Regions from separate parts of the Homo sapiens genome. Here region 1 is linked to region 2. The links are contacts of gene promoters, found by promoter capture Hi-C in human tissues and cell types (Jung and others, 2019). All regions are on one chromosome and are shown on one strand. The core of a region is centred on a gene start or on the middle of the fragment in contact, and the rest is flanking DNA. Distances in the headings are between cores, read along the strand shown. Region 1 has its middle 10 kb from the start of ENTPD3. Region 2 holds the start of ZNF621 (zinc finger protein 621).

The links. Contacts are between HindIII fragments. The study calls those that stand out against the background at their distance.
Region 1: a fragment that was not itself captured here is called in contact with the fragment with the promoter of ZNF621 in region 2 in 1 of the 25 tissues and cell types used here (pancreas).

What each region holds. Positions count from the first base shown.
Region 1 is chr3:40,375,366-40,378,266 of GRCh38, forward strand. No RefSeq gene overlaps it. Among named protein-coding and RNA genes, the nearest start is that of ENTPD3, 10 kb to the right of the region's middle. The HindIII fragment of the contact is 8,863 bases long and covers 1-2,901 here.
Region 2 is chr3:40,523,246-40,526,535 of GRCh38, forward strand. ZNF621 (zinc finger protein 621) reads left to right here and starts at 1,715. Exons shown (of 5, transcript NM_198484.5): 1 at 1,715-2,029; 2 at 2,534-2,619. The coding sequence starts at 2,596. RefSeq lists enhancers at 1,317-1,406, 1,685-2,497, 2,057-2,196 and a silencer at 1,597-1,756. The HindIII fragment of the contact is 18,179 bases long and covers 1-3,290 here.

The DNA.
Region 1 (2,901 bases), core at 5-2,504, 150 kb before region 2:
TACACACACACATATATATATGTATATATATATGTTAAACCACAAATTTGATTTTTGATATGGTTTGGCTGTGTCTCCACCCAAATCTCATCTTGAATTATAGCTCCCATAATCCCCATGTGTCATGGGAGGGACCCAGTGGGAAGTAACTGAATCATGGGGGCGGATTTTTCCCATGCTGTTCTCATGATAGTGAACAAATCTCATGAGATCTAATGGTTTTATAAAGGAGCATTCCCCTGCACATGCTCTCTTGCCTGCTGCCATGTCAGATATGATTTTGCTCCTCATTCACCTTCAGTCATGATTGTGAGGCCTCCCCCACCATGTGGAACTATGAGTCCATTAAACTTCTGTTTTTAAATAAATTACCCAGTCTTGGGTATGTCTTTATTAACAGAGTGAGAACAGACTAATACAATTTTTAAAACATTTTGAAATGAATTTAATATAAAGAATTCCTGTGTAATTCTGTTTCATTTTATATATTTAATAACATGTTTTGAGAACATCTATCAGCTTAACCAGACTGCCAAAGGGGTTCATTGTAAAAAATGGTAAAAACTAAGTAAAATGGCAAAGAATGGGAAGAAGCCTGAACAGACCAATAACAAGTAACAAGATTGAATAATAAAAAGTTTTTCATCAAAGAAAAGTCCAGGACCTGATGGTTTTACTGCTGAATTCTACCAAACATTTAAAGAACTAATACCAATTATTCCCAAACTATTCCAAAAAATTAAAGAGCGAATTCTTCCAAACTCATTCTATGAGGCCAGCATTACCCTGGTATGAAAACCAGAGCGAAACAACAACAAAAAAGAAAACTACAGGCCAATACCTCTGATCAACATAGATGTTAAAATTTTCAACAAAACGCTGGCAAACCAATTCAACATCACATTTAAAAGATCATTCACCTGTATACATACGTAACTAAACCTGCACGTTGTGCACATGTACCCTAAAACTTAAAGTATAATAAAAAAAAAAAAAGATCATTCCCCATGATCGAGGAAGACTCATCCCAGGGATGCAAAGATGGTTCAACATATGTAAATCAATAAGCATGACACACCACACTAACAGAATCAAAGACATAAACCATACGATCATTTCAATAAACACACAAAAAAGCATTTGATAAAATTTGATATCATTTCATGATAAAAACTCTCTACAATCTAGGTATAGAAGGAATGTGCCTCAACACAGCAAAGGCCATATATGACAAACTCACAGCTAACATCATACTTAACAGGGAAAAGTTGAAAGCTTTTCTTATGAGATCTAAAAAAAGACAAGAATGCTCACTTTCAACAATTTCATTCAACATAGCACTGAAAGTTCTACAGATCAGTTAGGCAAGAGAAAAAAATAAAGGGCAACCAAATTGGAAAGGAGGAAGACAAATTATTCCTGTTTGTGGACAACATAATTTTATACATAGAAAACCCTAAAAACTTCACAAAAAACTGTTGAAACTAATAAACAAATTCAGTAAAGTTGCATGATATAAAATAAACATACAAAAATTAGTAGCATTTCAATACACCAATAGTGAACTTTCAGAAAAAGAAATCGAGAAGCAATCCCACTTACAAAAGCTACCAAAGAGAAGAAGAGAAAGGCAGGCGGGAGGGAAGGAAGGAAGGAAGGGAGGAAGGAAGGAAGGAAGGAAGGAAGGAAGGAAGGAAGGAAGGAAGGAAGGAAAGGGAAGGGAAGGGAAGGGAGGGGAGGGGAGGGAGGGAGGAAGGAAGGAAGGAAGGAAGGAAGGAAGAAAGGGGCTCAGGCCTGTAATCCCAACACTTTGGGAGGCCAAGGTGGCAGATCATCTGAGGTCAGGAGTTCAAGACCAGCCTGGTCAACATGGCGAAAACCCATCTCTACTAAAAATACAAAAATTAGCCGAGTGTCATGGTGGGTGCCTGTAATCCCAACTACTCGGGAGGCTGAGAAGGAGAATCACTTGAAATCAAAAGGTGGAGGTTGCAGTGACCTGAGATTGTGCCACTGTACTCCAGCCTGGGTGATAGAGTGAGACTCTGTCAGAGAAGAAAGCAAGAGAAGGAAGTAAGGAAGGAAGGGAGGGAGGGAGAGAGAGAGAGAGAGAGGGAGAGAGAGAGAGAGAGAGGGAGGGAGGGAGGGAGAGAGAGAGAGAGAGAGAGAGAGAGGGAGGGAGGGAGGGAGGGAGAGAGAGAGAGAGAAAGAAAGAAAGAAAGAAGAAAGAGAGGAAGGAAGGAAGGAAGGAAGGAAGGAAAGAAAGAAAGAAAGAAAGAAAGAAAGAAAGAAAGAAAGAAAGAAAGAGAAAGCAAGCCTAGGAATAATCTTAATTAAGGAAGTGAAAGTTTTATACAATGAAAACTGAAAAACATTAGTAAAAGAAACTGAAGAAGACACAAATAAATGGAAAGATATCACATGTTCATGGATTTGAAAAGCTAACATTGTTAAAATGTCCATACTATACAAAGCAATCTATAGATTCAATGCAATCCCTATCAAAATATCAATGATACTCTTCACAGAAATAGAAAAAAACAATAATAAAAATATTTGTATGGCACCACAAAAGACTTTGAACACCCAAAGCAATTTTAAGCAAAAAGAACAAAGCTGGTGGCATCACATGACCTGATTTCAAAATATACTGCAAAGCTATAATAATCAAAACAGCCTGGTACTGGCATTAAAAATAGACACATAGGCCAATGAAACAAAATAGGGAACACAGAAATAAATTCACGCACTTACATACACATTTATAGCCAACTGATTTTTGACAAAGAGCCAACTGATTTTTGACAAAGATGCCAAGAAGACACACAGAGATATCAGAGGGGAAAAAAAAACAGCATTTTTAAATAAATGGTCCTGGGAAACTGGATATCCACATGCAGA
Region 2 (3,290 bases), core at 465-2,964:
CTCTCCATAATAGGACTTCATAAGTCAGTCTAATTCTTAAGAAAGGAATAACAAATCCAAGAAGTGGGACCCCTGTAATAAAGCAATATATCTAGATATCCAGGATCATTTTTTATCTTTTAGTGGTGGGAGACCAATTCCCCTTTATAGCATGGAAATGCTTGGTGGTGAGGAGCCTGGTATCTGGAACTGTGTTCAGGAGAAGTTATCAGCGTGATTAAAGTAAAACAAAGTCTGGGCCGGGCGCGGTGGCTCACGCCTGTAATCCCCAGCACTTTGGGAGGCCGAGGTGCACGGATCACAAGGTCAGGAGATCGACACCATCCTGGCTAACACGGTGAAAACCCGTCTCTACTAAAAATACAAAAAATTAGCTGGGCGTGGTGGCGGGGTGCCTGTAGTCCCAGCTACTCGGGAGGCTGAGGAAGGAGAATGGCGTGAACCCAGAAGGCAGAGCTTGCAGTGAGCCGAGATTGCGCCATTGCACTCCAGCCTGGGCGACAGAGCGAGACTCCGTCTCAAAAAAACAAACAAACAAAAAACAAGCAAAAAAAAAAAAAACAAAGTCTGTCCATCTTAGCAACCACTTTGATACTGGAGAAAGGCTCCTGTCCAGAAGGAAGGGCACAGTAGTGAGGTACTTGCCAATGAGCTGGGTAGAGCTGCCACTGGCTGGCTTCGGGAAGTGTTTATCACTGACTGGCTCATGTTCAGAAGCTTGGAGTGAGGCTGTTGTGTACTGGTTGATTTTCAGAGTACGTGTACTGATCTAAAATTATGTAAATTAATGGCAAGTACTTGTTAGTGACTTGGGACTTTGGTCAAAAAACAGTCTTTTCCTTTCCTGAATATGAAAAGTAAGTTCTTTTAATTAGCAGCCTCCCCTCTTCACTGTTTTTTCTTCCTGCAGTCCAACTAACAGAACAGACCATAAAGGTCTGTCCAGATCATTATTTATGGAAGTATGAGATATATATATTTCAGCTGGTGTTAACATTTTATTTAAGTGCCAGTTACTGAGCAGAAAAATAGCTGTAACTACGAGTTTTTGTAATTTATTGGAAAAAGCTAAATATAAGACATTTAGGGTGTCCTCCCAAAGTCAACACAGGACAAGATCATTTAATATAGGACATGTCCTGTGTATACAGGATGCCTAGCAACTGTATGTAGCCACGGGTGTTTTGGTTGTTAAATGAATCTGTCCTAAAAGGTTCTACGCACATCTAGGTCCTTGGAAGGGAGAGGGCTAAAACGGCGAGTGGAAACCATGGTTTCCCTGAGGACTGCCCAGCTGAGGACCCAAGCAAGATCCTGGGCTTGGGCCTCTTAGAGATGACAAAGCAGGCGCCATTCTCCCCTCACCTGCACGGCCCAGGCTTCAGGTGAGCCACGGGGCCAAGGCGGCCAACAGCTGAGGCGCAGCCCGTGAACTGGGGGCCCACTTGTGCCTAGAGGGCGAGGTCTCGGTAGAGCCAGGCTGTATCAGTCCGTGACACTCCAGCCAGAGGCGATGCCGACGGCTGCCGGAGAAAGCCGGGCTTAGAGCGCCACAGTTCCACGCCCGCCGCCGGCCTCTCAGCCCAGCCGGTCGCCGCAACCTCGCCTCTTCCGCAGGGCGGGGCCAGCCATGAAAGGCGGGGCGGGTCTGGCCACGGGGCGACCGAGATGGCGGCCTCCGGGGGCCTAGAGGGACCCTGGGCGTGCACTCGCCCTTCCGGCTCGGCCTTTAGTTAGTGACCAGCTCCTCGGCGTTCTGCAGAGCGTGGGTTTCAGCGAGTTCTACGTGCCAGGTCCGCCCGGTGCCGGCTTCCTCGCTGCCCCTGGCGGCTCGTCAGCCCCCACTACCCCTGAACTTGGTCCCAATGGCGGCCCGCCCCTCCTTCACCCGGACCGTGGGCATCTGGGCCTCGCCGAAGCCGTCAAGGTGGCTGCTCGGGCTTCTAGAGCCCGTGTCCAGCCCTTTGCCACCGAGGCCTGATCCTCTTTTCTGCCCTAAAGAACTTGCCCTGACAGCCTCTGGCTCCCGGTACTGACGTTTCTGATGTTTGGGGTTGCCTGTTTTCTTGGGTGGAGTGTTAAGATCACGGTTGGGTGGGGTCTCCGGTCAGCATCACCCACTGGGACGCTGAGTATTTTACCCTTAATCCGCATTCAGCCACCCCAGTCCCTCTTCTCCTGAGGTTCTTTCTTTTGGGTCCACGTCATCGTCCCTGTAAGCATTCTGTAAAGACTCTTTACGTTTGTAGAGACCCAACACAATAGGGACAGGGCTCTTGGGTCCCTCAGTTTACCCGTACGAATGGGCTCAAAAAAAGCTCTTCGGACTGAGCAGGCAGGTGGAAGATTGTCCTGAAGACTAGGCAGAACAATTCATAAGAAGTTTGGGGCTATCAGCGTGAGAACAATTAGAGGGAGTCCTAGTAGAATCTCCGTGCATCCAGTGCTGGAAATGTGGAAACTGGGAGGGCCATAGGTTGCTGTAGGTGGTGGACGACAGGGTCCTTAGCACTCATGGCTCTTTTTCTCTTAGCTCTTGAGGATCTTGCTTGTCCAAACCCAGAAGACAGTGCATGAAGCCAGGGGACATCCGCCATGCTCCAAACAACTTGGCCTCAGGTGAGCTGAGCTTCTTTCAGTTTTTTTGTTTGTTTGTTTATGTTTTTTTACTCACATTAGCTATCAGATAATCAGGAAAGGATGAGGAAGGCCTAACTTGGCCAAGCTGTGTTTTCCCCTTTGTATCTATCTCCAGGGCTATGGCAGATGTAAATATGTGCTGGGGAAATGAAAGTTTTGTGTATAGAGAGTGATGAGTTTGGATGTATAGATTTAAATGGAAGAAAGGGGACCTATACCAAGAAATTCTTTCTGAATGTGGAAATCCAGATCGTGTTCTAGAAATGAAAGTCACCTACTGAAATCAGACTCATTTTTTGTGAGACGGAGTCTCACTCTGTCGCCCAAGCTGGAGTGTAGTGGCACTATGATATCGGCTCACTGCAGCCTCTGCCTCCTGGGTTCAAGTGATTCCCATACCTCAGCCTCCTAAGTAGCTGGGATTACAGATGTGCGCCGCCACGTGTGGCTAATTTTTGTATTTTTAGTAGAGACGGGGTTTACACCACGTTGGCCAGGCTGGTCTTGAACTCCTGAGCTCAGGTGATCCACCCGCTTCGGCTTCCCAAAGTGCTGGGATTATAGGCATGAGCCACCGCACTAGCTTGAAATCAGAAATTCTTTATTGGAGAGATTGCCCACAAATTGTATTGTATGTATCCCAGAGAGAC